Linked DNA regions of Homo sapiens: region 2 is linked to region 1. The links are contacts of gene promoters, found by promoter capture Hi-C in human tissues and cell types (Jung and others, 2019). All regions are on one chromosome and are shown on one strand. Each heading gives the region's core, a stretch centred on a gene start or on the middle of the fragment in contact. The rest is flanking DNA. Distances are from core to core; before and after follow the strand shown.

What was found. Contacts are between HindIII fragments. The study calls those that stand out against the background at their distance.
Region 2: a fragment that was not itself captured here is called in contact with the fragment with the promoter of SORL1 in region 1 in 1 of the 25 tissues and cell types used here (hippocampus).

What each region holds. Positions count from the first base shown.
Region 1 is chr11:121,450,417-121,455,458 of GRCh38, forward strand. It overlaps SORL1 (sortilin related receptor 1), which reads left to right and starts at 1,898. Exons shown (of 48, transcript NM_003105.6): 1 at 1,898-2,200. The coding sequence starts at 1,916. SORL1-AS1 (SORL1 antisense RNA 1) reads right to left here and starts at 2,551. Exons shown (of 3, transcript NR_183636.1): 1 at 2,259-2,551. RefSeq lists enhancers at 855-914, 2,305-2,494, 2,505-2,554, 2,595-2,664, 2,685-2,734 and silencers at 1,785-1,834, 1,965-2,014, 3,859-3,908. The HindIII fragment of the contact is 11,875 bases long and covers 1-5,042 here.
Region 2 is chr11:122,521,753-122,526,823 of GRCh38, forward strand. No RefSeq gene overlaps it. Among named protein-coding and RNA genes, the nearest start is that of TRK-TTT2-1, 36 kb to the right of the region's middle. The HindIII fragment of the contact is 3,246 bases long and covers 797-4,042 here.

The sequences.
Region 1 (5,042 bases), core at 648-3,147:
GGAGGATGCATGATTGTTTGAATTATTATTTTTAATTGACATATATAAGTATATAATAAATATATATGTTATATATATGAGTTAGAGCTGAATTGCACAATATGAGCAAGGCGTTCCTCTCAGCTTCAAAACCAGCTCTGGGTTGTAAACAAGCTACCACTTCCTCAATCCCTCTGAAATAACATCAAAGTTGGGGTGCAGGATGAAGGCACCCCAATAATACCACACTGGGGAAAGTGTGGTATTTTGATACCTGTATACAATGTATAATGAACAAAGCAGGGTGGTTAACATAGAGAATGCATGATTTGCTTGGTGGGGAGAACTGGATGGTTCTGTAATTATGTTGAGATGGACAGAAAGACATCATCTGACTTGGGGAGAAAATCGGGTGTGGGAGGAGGTGGGAGAGTGCAGAACCTGAGGCAGAGGTCCCCAGCAAGTCTGGCATGGGGTAGGGTAGGGTGGTTGAATACTGGCTTCAGGGAGATGAGGCAAGCTGGCCTGACTCTGGCAGGTTGTCAGTGGTAGTCCTAGGTAGAGGAGGGGGCTTTGCTAAGCTACCTGAAAAGTACTAGAGTGGGCCGGGGTAGGAATCGGGCTACCGTGGCTTGTCGGAGATGAGGAATGTTTTTAGAAAATTGAACTGACCATCCCTTCCTTCCCCTGAACAGCAGCTTGTATGCAACTATAAAGGTAGTCTCCCTTTCAGCCCTGCTTGCTGTGTCTTTATTCTTATCAAAAACCAGGATCTGAGTTCAGAGGGCAGTGAAACATAAAATGAAATAGGAAAGGTTGCAGTAGTACATAGACTTTGGCTGCTCCCACTAACCTGCAAAAAAAATATTTTCCTTGGGCGTACCTTAGCAGTTCCATGGCAGAAGTTTTATCTCCTGTGGTTCAGAGAGTTTGGCTCGTCAAGCTGAATGTAGGGTTAAAGTGTGTCCTCCCTCCTCTGTGGGTGTTTGCCTAGCTCCTGGCTGTGGGTTGAAGGGACTGGTAAATATGTCTATTTTACTGCTGAGGCAGGGTGGCTCAGTGCTTGGTCACCTTGGAGGGATCATAAGCAAGCCGCCGCTGGGGCCCTGTGCCACGCACAGGTATTCATGCGTGCGTGCAAGCACACCCTGTATAGCTGTGTAATAATTGTCCAGGTGTGGTGCATTCTTTGTCAGATGTACCCTTGTTTTTACTGCCTCTGTGCAGGATGTTTATTTGCTGTGCTTCAGGCTGGGGCACGTAGCTTGATCAAGGGTAGTTTTTGCTGTGGCCCCTGCAAATACGTTGTGGTGCCCAGAGTAGATGAAAAACTGTGAGTTTCCCAATAGAGCGGGTTCATCTGGACTCTTGTTGGTTGCGTTCTAGGAGCTAATTCTGTGGCTCTGGACTCTTCCCTGGAGGTGGGGATGAGGCCGGGGCCGGGGGGAGGTGGTCTTGTGGCGCTACTGCGGGCTGTGCACTCAGGAAAGTGGCCACGGTTTAGGACGACCTCGACACGACCCTGTATAGGACGCAACTAACTCCAGAGAAAACGAGCGAGCCCCATGCAACTCTTCATTCCTGCAGGGAGAACAAGGAGGTGTGCCCGCCAGGGAAGGGACGCACCCCCACCGGCGCTCGCTGCCTTAACTTCCCCATCCCCGCGCCAGGGAGGGGCCGGAGTCGCCGCCGAGGCCGCCGAGCGCAGAAAGTGCGCGAAAGGGACGCGCTGCGAGCCTCACACGTGACGGCGCCGCGCCGAACCGAGCGGGACCTGGCGGCAGCGGCGGCGGGCGCAGCGGGGCGGCCCGGAGCGGCGCGGGCGGCCTGGAGCCCCGGGAGCGGCGCGCGCGGTCCCGGCCCAGCGGCTCTCCTGGCCTCGCGCTGCACATTCTCTCCTGGCGGCGGCGCCACCTGCAGTAGCGTTCGCCCGAACATGGCGACACGGAGCAGCAGGAGGGAGTCGCGACTCCCGTTCCTATTCACCCTGGTCGCACTGCTGCCGCCCGGAGCTCTCTGCGAAGTCTGGACGCAGAGGCTGCACGGCGGCAGCGCGCCCTTGCCCCAGGACCGGGGCTTCCTCGTGGTGCAGGGCGACCCGCGCGAGCTGCGGCTGTGGGCGCGCGGGGATGCCAGGGGGGCGAGCCGCGCGGACGAGAAGCCGCTCCGGAGGAAACGGAGCGCTGCCCTGCAGCCCGAGCCCATCAAGGTGTACGGACAGGTGAGCAGTTTTGCAACCCGCCTCCCTCCAGTTTTTTCCTCTCCCTGCACTTCCTCACCCCCGCATCCATCCGTTGCAGTCGCCTCCTAGGTGCAGGCACCACTGGGGACTTCCCGGCTTGCATTTGTTTTTTTCCTTCACGAGTACAACCGTCAGCACTTGAATCGCATTGATCTTTCCTTCTTCCTGTCGATTTAGTAAACGTATTCCAGGTAACTCGCCGGGTGCAGTGCGTATTACCCCAGGGTGTGTGCAGAGAGATGTAGTTTCCGGCAGGTATAGGAGGGGTGCAGCTTCATTTTACATCTGGATAAAAAACGGGCTTTCTTTAGTGTATCATCAGTTGGCAGTGGAGGCGAGCACCCTGCAGTTGCGGTACACTTACACAGAACAGCACGAGGTGGGGGTTTCCACACTTAGCATTATTAGCACAATAAAAGTGGGCAAACCTGAAAGCTTGTCGACTATCTCTGTACAGTCAGACAAGAGGTGTGTGTATGTGTGTGCGTGTGTAAAGGCTGAATTTTTAATTTTTAATTTTTGGCGAGCGTGTGAGATGCTCTCCATTCCTTCTTCCCCACCCTTCAAGATGCTGACTCTCCCACCCCCGTCAAGATAACTTTATTTTGGAGAGGAATACCCCTCATGGCACTTGGAGATTTGAAAGGACTGCAGGAAATTTGGTGGGCATTATTATTCTATAAGTGATTTATTTCTACCCAGGCAATAGGTTTATTAGATCATAAGTAACGTGAATTTCACTTTTATGGTCAGACTTACTGCGAGGAATTGCAGATGGAGTTTGTAGGTTAGGATCAGCACTGGCAAAATTAATTTGACCGTGTTATTGCCTCATGAGACTCCCAGTCCTGCAGTTAAGATTGACATCAGCAAAAGTATAAGGTCGGTGGGGGAGAAAAAGTAGGACCAGAGGAGGGGGTAAATACACTTGTTTTCTAGAGTCAAATTGTTCCTTTTGAAGTAGAAATTATTAATAAAAGATTACCCTGAGTTCTGCCTTTTCTCACTAATTTCACTTTAGCCATTTCTTCAGGAAATACAGAGTTAAATGTTCAACCCTTGGATCCAGGACGAACCTTGTAAACATATCACCCTATTGTGTCATTTTGTTGGTGAAGAAACTGAAGCGTGGAATGGTGAAGTGACTAGTCCAAGGTCATACCGGGAAGGTGGCCTGCTCTCTAGTTTTTGTCTGCATTGTCTCAGTGACCTTTGCTTGACTGCAGTCACCCTGTCTTTATGCAATGCTGCTGAAATACCTCCTTTCTAAAATAAAATAGATCTGGTATAAAGGGGGAAAGGATGGTGGTGACTGGGTGGGAGCGTTGGATTTCCCTCCACTATTGGTCCCTGGGCAAGAATGTGTGCCCCAGGGCATGTAACTAATGGTGGCCACAGGCTGCAGGAACCTGCATGCTCAGTTCCTCTTGGGCCCAGATCCTTGTCCCCCTGTCCCCACCCCATATGACAAATATGTGTATGAACAAAAAGAAGTCATCAAGGTCCTTGCTCTTAACAGCGACACCAGCATGGGGCTGATGGAGGGTGGGAGAAGGAGGAGGAGTGGCCCACTTCTTCATTGGGCCTCCGCAGTCAGCCCAGCTCTGCTGTGCTCTTGAATCAGCATTCTGGGAACTGGGAGTTGGGGGCTGGTGGGAGACAATCCCTCCCAGTGCTCAGGTCCCCTGAAGCTATAGTTTAGGTTGAGGAAAAAGTTTTCTGGTTTCAAAAATATGTGTACATGTGCCATTTCTTTCTTGGGTTTGGTTTATGAAAAGCTCCAGGGGATGTGGGGCAGGTTGGACATGAACTCTGTTCTCACTGGGAGTGACTCCCAAACCCTGGGCTTTTGAGTTTCTGGGCCAGCCAGATTGAGTTTGGTTCAGCTGAAGGATGGAGAACTAGCAGTCAAACTCATAATGAGGAATTCCTAACCGGAGGGTGAGGGTACAAGGGTGAGATTTTTCTTCTCTGTGGCTGCCTTCCTATGCCATTGTTGCCTCTTGCTCTGAGGTTAATAAGAAGTGGAATTAATTTGAATCTGTAAGGATTTGAGTCAGATAAAAGGAAGAACTTCCCTGTACTGGGCTTTCTGCCACAAGTTCTATCTGGTGCAGACCCTTCAGAATGCAAGCACAGGTTGGTGACTGAAGGGGTTTGAGGTGCCCCTCTTGGAACTCTGGAGTAACTAACATCTATTTGGAATGATCTTTCTAGCAAGGATGACCATTGCCTCTGTGTTTCCCTGGGGCAGACCTGGTTTCTAAGTTGTCTCTGGTGGTTATGAATAGCACCCCCTTCACTCTCAAAAGTGTCAAGATGTGACAATAAATTATATGGTCCTACTTTTAGCCTTAAGCCAAGTTCCACTTTGTAATCACGACTTTCCCCTTCAACGTTTAAACCTAAGGAATGGTGATGTTTTCCAACAGTACTGCTTGACTTGAGTGTGGTTCTATGGAGGTGCAGTGAGCTGGGGAATAAAATTTCATTCCTGCTTTTAGGAAATTTACAATTTAAGGAGGAGAGCAAGCAGATGCAGATACAGGCATGTCAATGTACCAGGATGGGAACCAGGAAACATGGTCACAAGAAACCAGCCACAACTCTACAATGGTGTGATAACGGGCTGTGTGACATGCAGCGCATGGGAGATGGAGAGATAAGGGGTGGTGGGCTCAGACACTGTCCAGCTTCTTGCCCTCTGACCTTTGAGTGAGGTTAAGAGGACACTGGCAGCACAGGTTAGGGCTGGAAGCAGAAGCTGCCTGAAGGAAGCAGGCCTAGAGGCGATGTTAAGGCCACCACCTTCAGGGAGAAG
Region 2 (5,071 bases), core at 1,170-3,669, 1.1 Mb after region 1:
AATAGCAGTCATATTCCACTAAAAGTACCTGCCAGCATCAAAGCCTCTACCATTAAGCAATTCACTACAGAGGGAAGAGCTCTTAAGAGCTAAACAAAGTGAATTAATTCCCCCCCTCCCAATTAACTTCGGAAAGAATCTCAAAGTGCTCAGAACTCTGTCAAAGCATCAGGAAACATTTCATCTTACTACCACCATTCTAGCATAACACAGTCTTGCAAGGAGTTACCAAACATTTACCAGCCTGCATGCTGTGTATCGTTTAGAAGGATTTCAAGTTCTCCAGATGACTGTTATCTCCACAGGAGCCACAAGCAGGACTAGTTTTAATTATTATTTTATCCCCAGAAGCTAATACAATGCAGATAGATGGTATTCAATTAACATTTGTTACAAGAATTAAAAAATGAGGAGAAAGAAGAAGGAAGGTAGAAGAAGAAAGGAATAGAGAAAAGGAGGAATTGATTTGTGGTGTTAACACCAATTCAAAAACTCATAATAAAAGAGCATTTCATTTAAAGCCAGTGAGATAATTCCATCACCTCTGAGCTGTGTGGCAATGAACAAGTCATTTAACTTCTCTAAATCACAGTTTCTTCTTTCATTTAATAGCAATGCTGTCTTCAGTACATACTTTAAAGAGTTATAATGAAGCAAAATAGAGTTAATGAATTTGAAAGCACTTTGTAAACAGTAAAAGATAGCTGTTGTTGCTATTAAGACTGGGAATCTGGCTGGGTGCAGTGGCTCATGCCTGTAATCCCAGCACTTTGGGAGGCCGAAGCGGGAGGACCACTTGAGGTCAGGTGTTCGAGACCAGCCTGGTCAACATGGTGAAACCCCATCTCTACTAAAAATACAAAAAATTAGCCAGGTGTGGTGGCAGGCACCTGTAATTCCAGCTACTTGGGAGGCTGAGGCATGAGAATCACTTGAAACCAGGAGGCAGAGGTTGTAGTGAGCCGAGATCGCACACTGCACTCCAACCTCGGTGATACAGTGAAACTCAGTCTCAAACAAACAAAAAAGACTGGGAATCAAACTTTAAATTGTACTTTAGTGTGCCTATAGTTAGATCATGGTTTTGTGCCATATAATGATATTTTAGTCTGACAAAACTTGCAAGACAATTATCATGGGTTTATGTCCCAAGTGGACAAAGAAAAATGCAACTCAGTCGTTATCCTTAAGGAGCTCACAGCTTAGTGGAGGAGACCATCATGAAATTAGAAATTATAACACCAGCAGTATTAACTAGTAATGGAAAACCGTATAAATGAGTGGCAGGAAGTCACAAAGGAGGAAGAGTTACTCTGCTGAACAAGTCACAGACTTGAGAGGGGAGTGATATTTGAACTGAGCCATAAAGGATAATAGACACTTGCCAGATGAAAACAGAAAAGGCTTTGGGTGCTTAAAAGTTTGCATAAGTAATACTAAATAGTAATTTAAATATAACTGCACATATTTTTTTCAACTTTCTTTTTACATTCAATGTTATTTTTTAAAATGTACCCATCTAGTTATATGATGGATTCACAAGTGTCTATGTGTTTTCTAGTTGTTTCCTATGTTTGAAATGTGCCATAATTTAAATTATTTTATTTAAGGAAACAAAGAACGATGCCTGGCTACCACAAAGGATCTGAAGTGGTGGGAGGTGGATTTTGGTAGGTCTGAACCAGATCGAGACAGATGTTACATGTTGGCATGAGGAATTTGTATTTCATCGTTTGAACAAAAGAGATTAACATTTAATTATTAAATAGGATCGAAATGATTTTTGTTGTCACTGTTGTTGTCAGAAAGCTAAGTCAAGTGGTAGCACAGAATGAATAAATTTGCTGCAACCAGTAGAGACTTGAACCATTCTTACCCTTTGCTTGCTGTTTCCATGAACAATGCCCTCTAGATTCTAAGAGTAAACCAGACAAGGAAAGATCATCAGAATCTGGGAGACCAAGCATGCTTAAGCCGGTGTCGGTGCTTTCAAGGCCAGTGTACAAAGTGCCAGCCAACATGGTCAAAAGTCCTCTGCCTCATATCAAGGTGGGAGGAGGAGAGAACCAAGCCAGGCATACAGAAATATTTTGTATTCACTTTTGTTTTCCCCAGCTTTACCAATAAGTCATCTTTGCACCACCTTGTACCACATGAGGTCCCAGCCTCAGCCCCAGGATTGAAGGCCAATTGTGTGTTGCTGTGACAGCAAGTATTTAAAAGGAAAATAAAGAAGCGACAAGCTGCGACATGCTATCATTAAGCAATCATAACTTCCTCCCCATATTACGACAATAGATGTCACTCTCTCATCTGGAAGGCAGGCCACGTATAGAAACACCATGTCACAAAGCTTTTCAGACAAAGACGTAGTGGGGGTGAGTTCATTGGGTGCAGAATAGAATATTTTGATGGGTTGCATCCAACCCATTTCCCACCCCCCAACTCCTACATGCTCTGATAAAAGTCAGATCTGTAAAGAACTTCAAAGGCTCCCCAGTCTGACAAACAGTAATAAAACAAGAAATCGAAAAAAAAAAAAAATCTGCCAAAGTGCTTGGAGGAAGCGGAGCTGCCAAGTGCTATGATGGTTCTGTTTTAGTAATCAGCAGACTAACTGCAGGGCACTTCCTCCTAGCGGGAAGCCGAGTCTGGGCTGTCAACTGTGAAGGAGTACAGAAAGGTCAGGCAGCAAAGGGATTCTAAAGGCCTGGAATAAGCGATTGCACATTCTTTCTGGTGATTTTTCTTCTAGTCCACATCCCACCCCAAGCCCACAGCCTGCTTCATCCCAACTGCAATCTCAACTACTCCCTCACCTCCTTCTTCCAAAGAGAAAGATGTGAAAAAGCAAAATCAGTCAGTCTGATCTCACCTTCCCTTCCCTCCATTTAATGGAGGGTTGGGGGTTGGGGAGAGCATGCAACAAGGAAATAGCTCTGGAATCCAGAACATCTGGCTTCTATTCAGACCCAATCACCAACCTTGGGAGCATATTGAAAGCATTTGGCTGTCTCAACAGTCTAAAAGAAGCTATTTATTTCAGACTCAACAACCAGCCCAACCATATGCTTCCATTTGGAAACAATTGGAGGTAAGACAGAGTTTCTTTTTCTTTTCCTTTTTTTTAAGGAGGAAGGTGGAAATAACACAGGACTTTGAGTCAGAGAACTGACCTGCATTCCACTCACTCATCTGCCACTTGCTTGTGTGTGACTTTATTTGACTTCTTACTCTCTCTGCAAATTTAATTACTAAGCTATCAAGCCATGATTAAACTCCCCTCTCATGGAGTTCTTGAGAGGATTAAAAGCACAGGGTATCATAAGAACGTACTGTAGTGCCTGGTATATGATTCCTTCTCTCCTCAGACAAACCACTTACCCATAATTTATTCATTGGGCATCAAAGAACCTATCTGTCTTGTCTGTACCTCCCATGGTACTGCAATAATCAGATGAATAGTGTACGCCTAAGTGTTTGGTAATTTTAAAGTGCCTTGCAGATATGAAGGATTGCAGTTGGGATCATTATTACACCAATAATGTGTAATAATGTGTCAAAGCCAAAGCTTTGATTCCTAAAACCAATCCAGGAAAAACTGTTAATGAAAAGTTTCTAGATGACCACCAGCCATTTATTTGTCCAGGTTGATGACTAATGCTGGTGAGAATTCTTTCCATCTCTTCACCTCTATGGTTTAGTCCACTCCCTAGGTGCTTTCAATCCCAGGTAAAGGTAGAACCTGAGGCTCCATTACTTTGGCAATTAGTGGAGCCCCTTTTATTTCTATAAGCTCGGCATCATTTCCAGGACATTTCTAAACTATCAGGCCTCACTTCTCTCATCTCTAAGACTAGGAATCTCTAAACTGTAAGAATAAGAGCTATCTACATAGTAGTTCATAATTTATAAGACACTTTCACAAATGTACTCCTACCTGCTCCATACAATCACCCTGTGATTGTGTCTAACATTTCAGATGAGGAACTGAGGCTCAGACACTTAGGTGAGCCCAGGGCTCCTTGCTCAAAATCCTCGCTTTCTATCACAGCTTCCAAGCAAGGCAGCATAAGGGAATCCCAGAACAGGAAAGTAACCAGTAGGAACCAATATTAGGTCCTCAGGAACCTTGGAAGACACTAGGAAGCACAGATATTCAGTGAAGACCTCATGTGACCTCAGAAAAAAAACCCTCCCAACTGAGGATTTTGGCCAGGTGAAATTATTCCCCTGTCCAATCCATACTAAACCTTTCACCCGAAACAGAAGATATCACTTCTTAAAATTGTGGAGGATGAAGCAGTCCTACTTAGAAATATCTGGTCTCCAGATTCAGCTGCAATGCCCCGTATTCAACCCCCAGATCTCTTCACATTTCTGGTTCTGTCTTCCAGCTTGGGTCTCAATTTGCCCATGACACCAAGTGGATCTGTTGACTGACCATGTGCCCCTGAACCAGCTCATGCCTCAGCTAGGCAGTTTCAGGGTCTCCTACCAGGTAACCAATCAAGCTTTCTGGAAGGACTTTTAGAGTCATGAAAGTGTCGTTGGAGTCCACTATGACTTTTAGCTAAGTGGAAAAAGCAAAATAAGAAAGTATTTCTTCACCTTAATTTAACTTAGATGCTGGCCTCTCTAGGAGGCCTTTTTTGAATGCTCCTCTTCCCCTGCAGTGCCCTCCCAGTCTGTGTTAGATGCCACTCCTATGTCCTCCGTGGTGCTTTTCACTTTCCTCCAAGACAGCACTCAATGAGTACTGTAATTGTGTGCACATTTATCTACCACTGCTTCTAACTTGTGAAACATGTATTCTCTCTTTTACTGCTAAGTCCATGGTACCTGTTGCAATGTCTTTAACATGATAGGTATTCAGTAATGAATGAACTAGGTAAAAAAATGTATCTGTAAAGACAGAGCTATAATAGGACACAGAAAAATGGAAAGTTCCATACAATGCTGATATGAAGTGATTTTGTTTTCTTTTTGTGATTTGAAATATTATTTATGCTGCTCCAAAGAAAAATAAGATAAACTTCTAAAAAATTTTTTTAATTAAACTTTTAAGTTC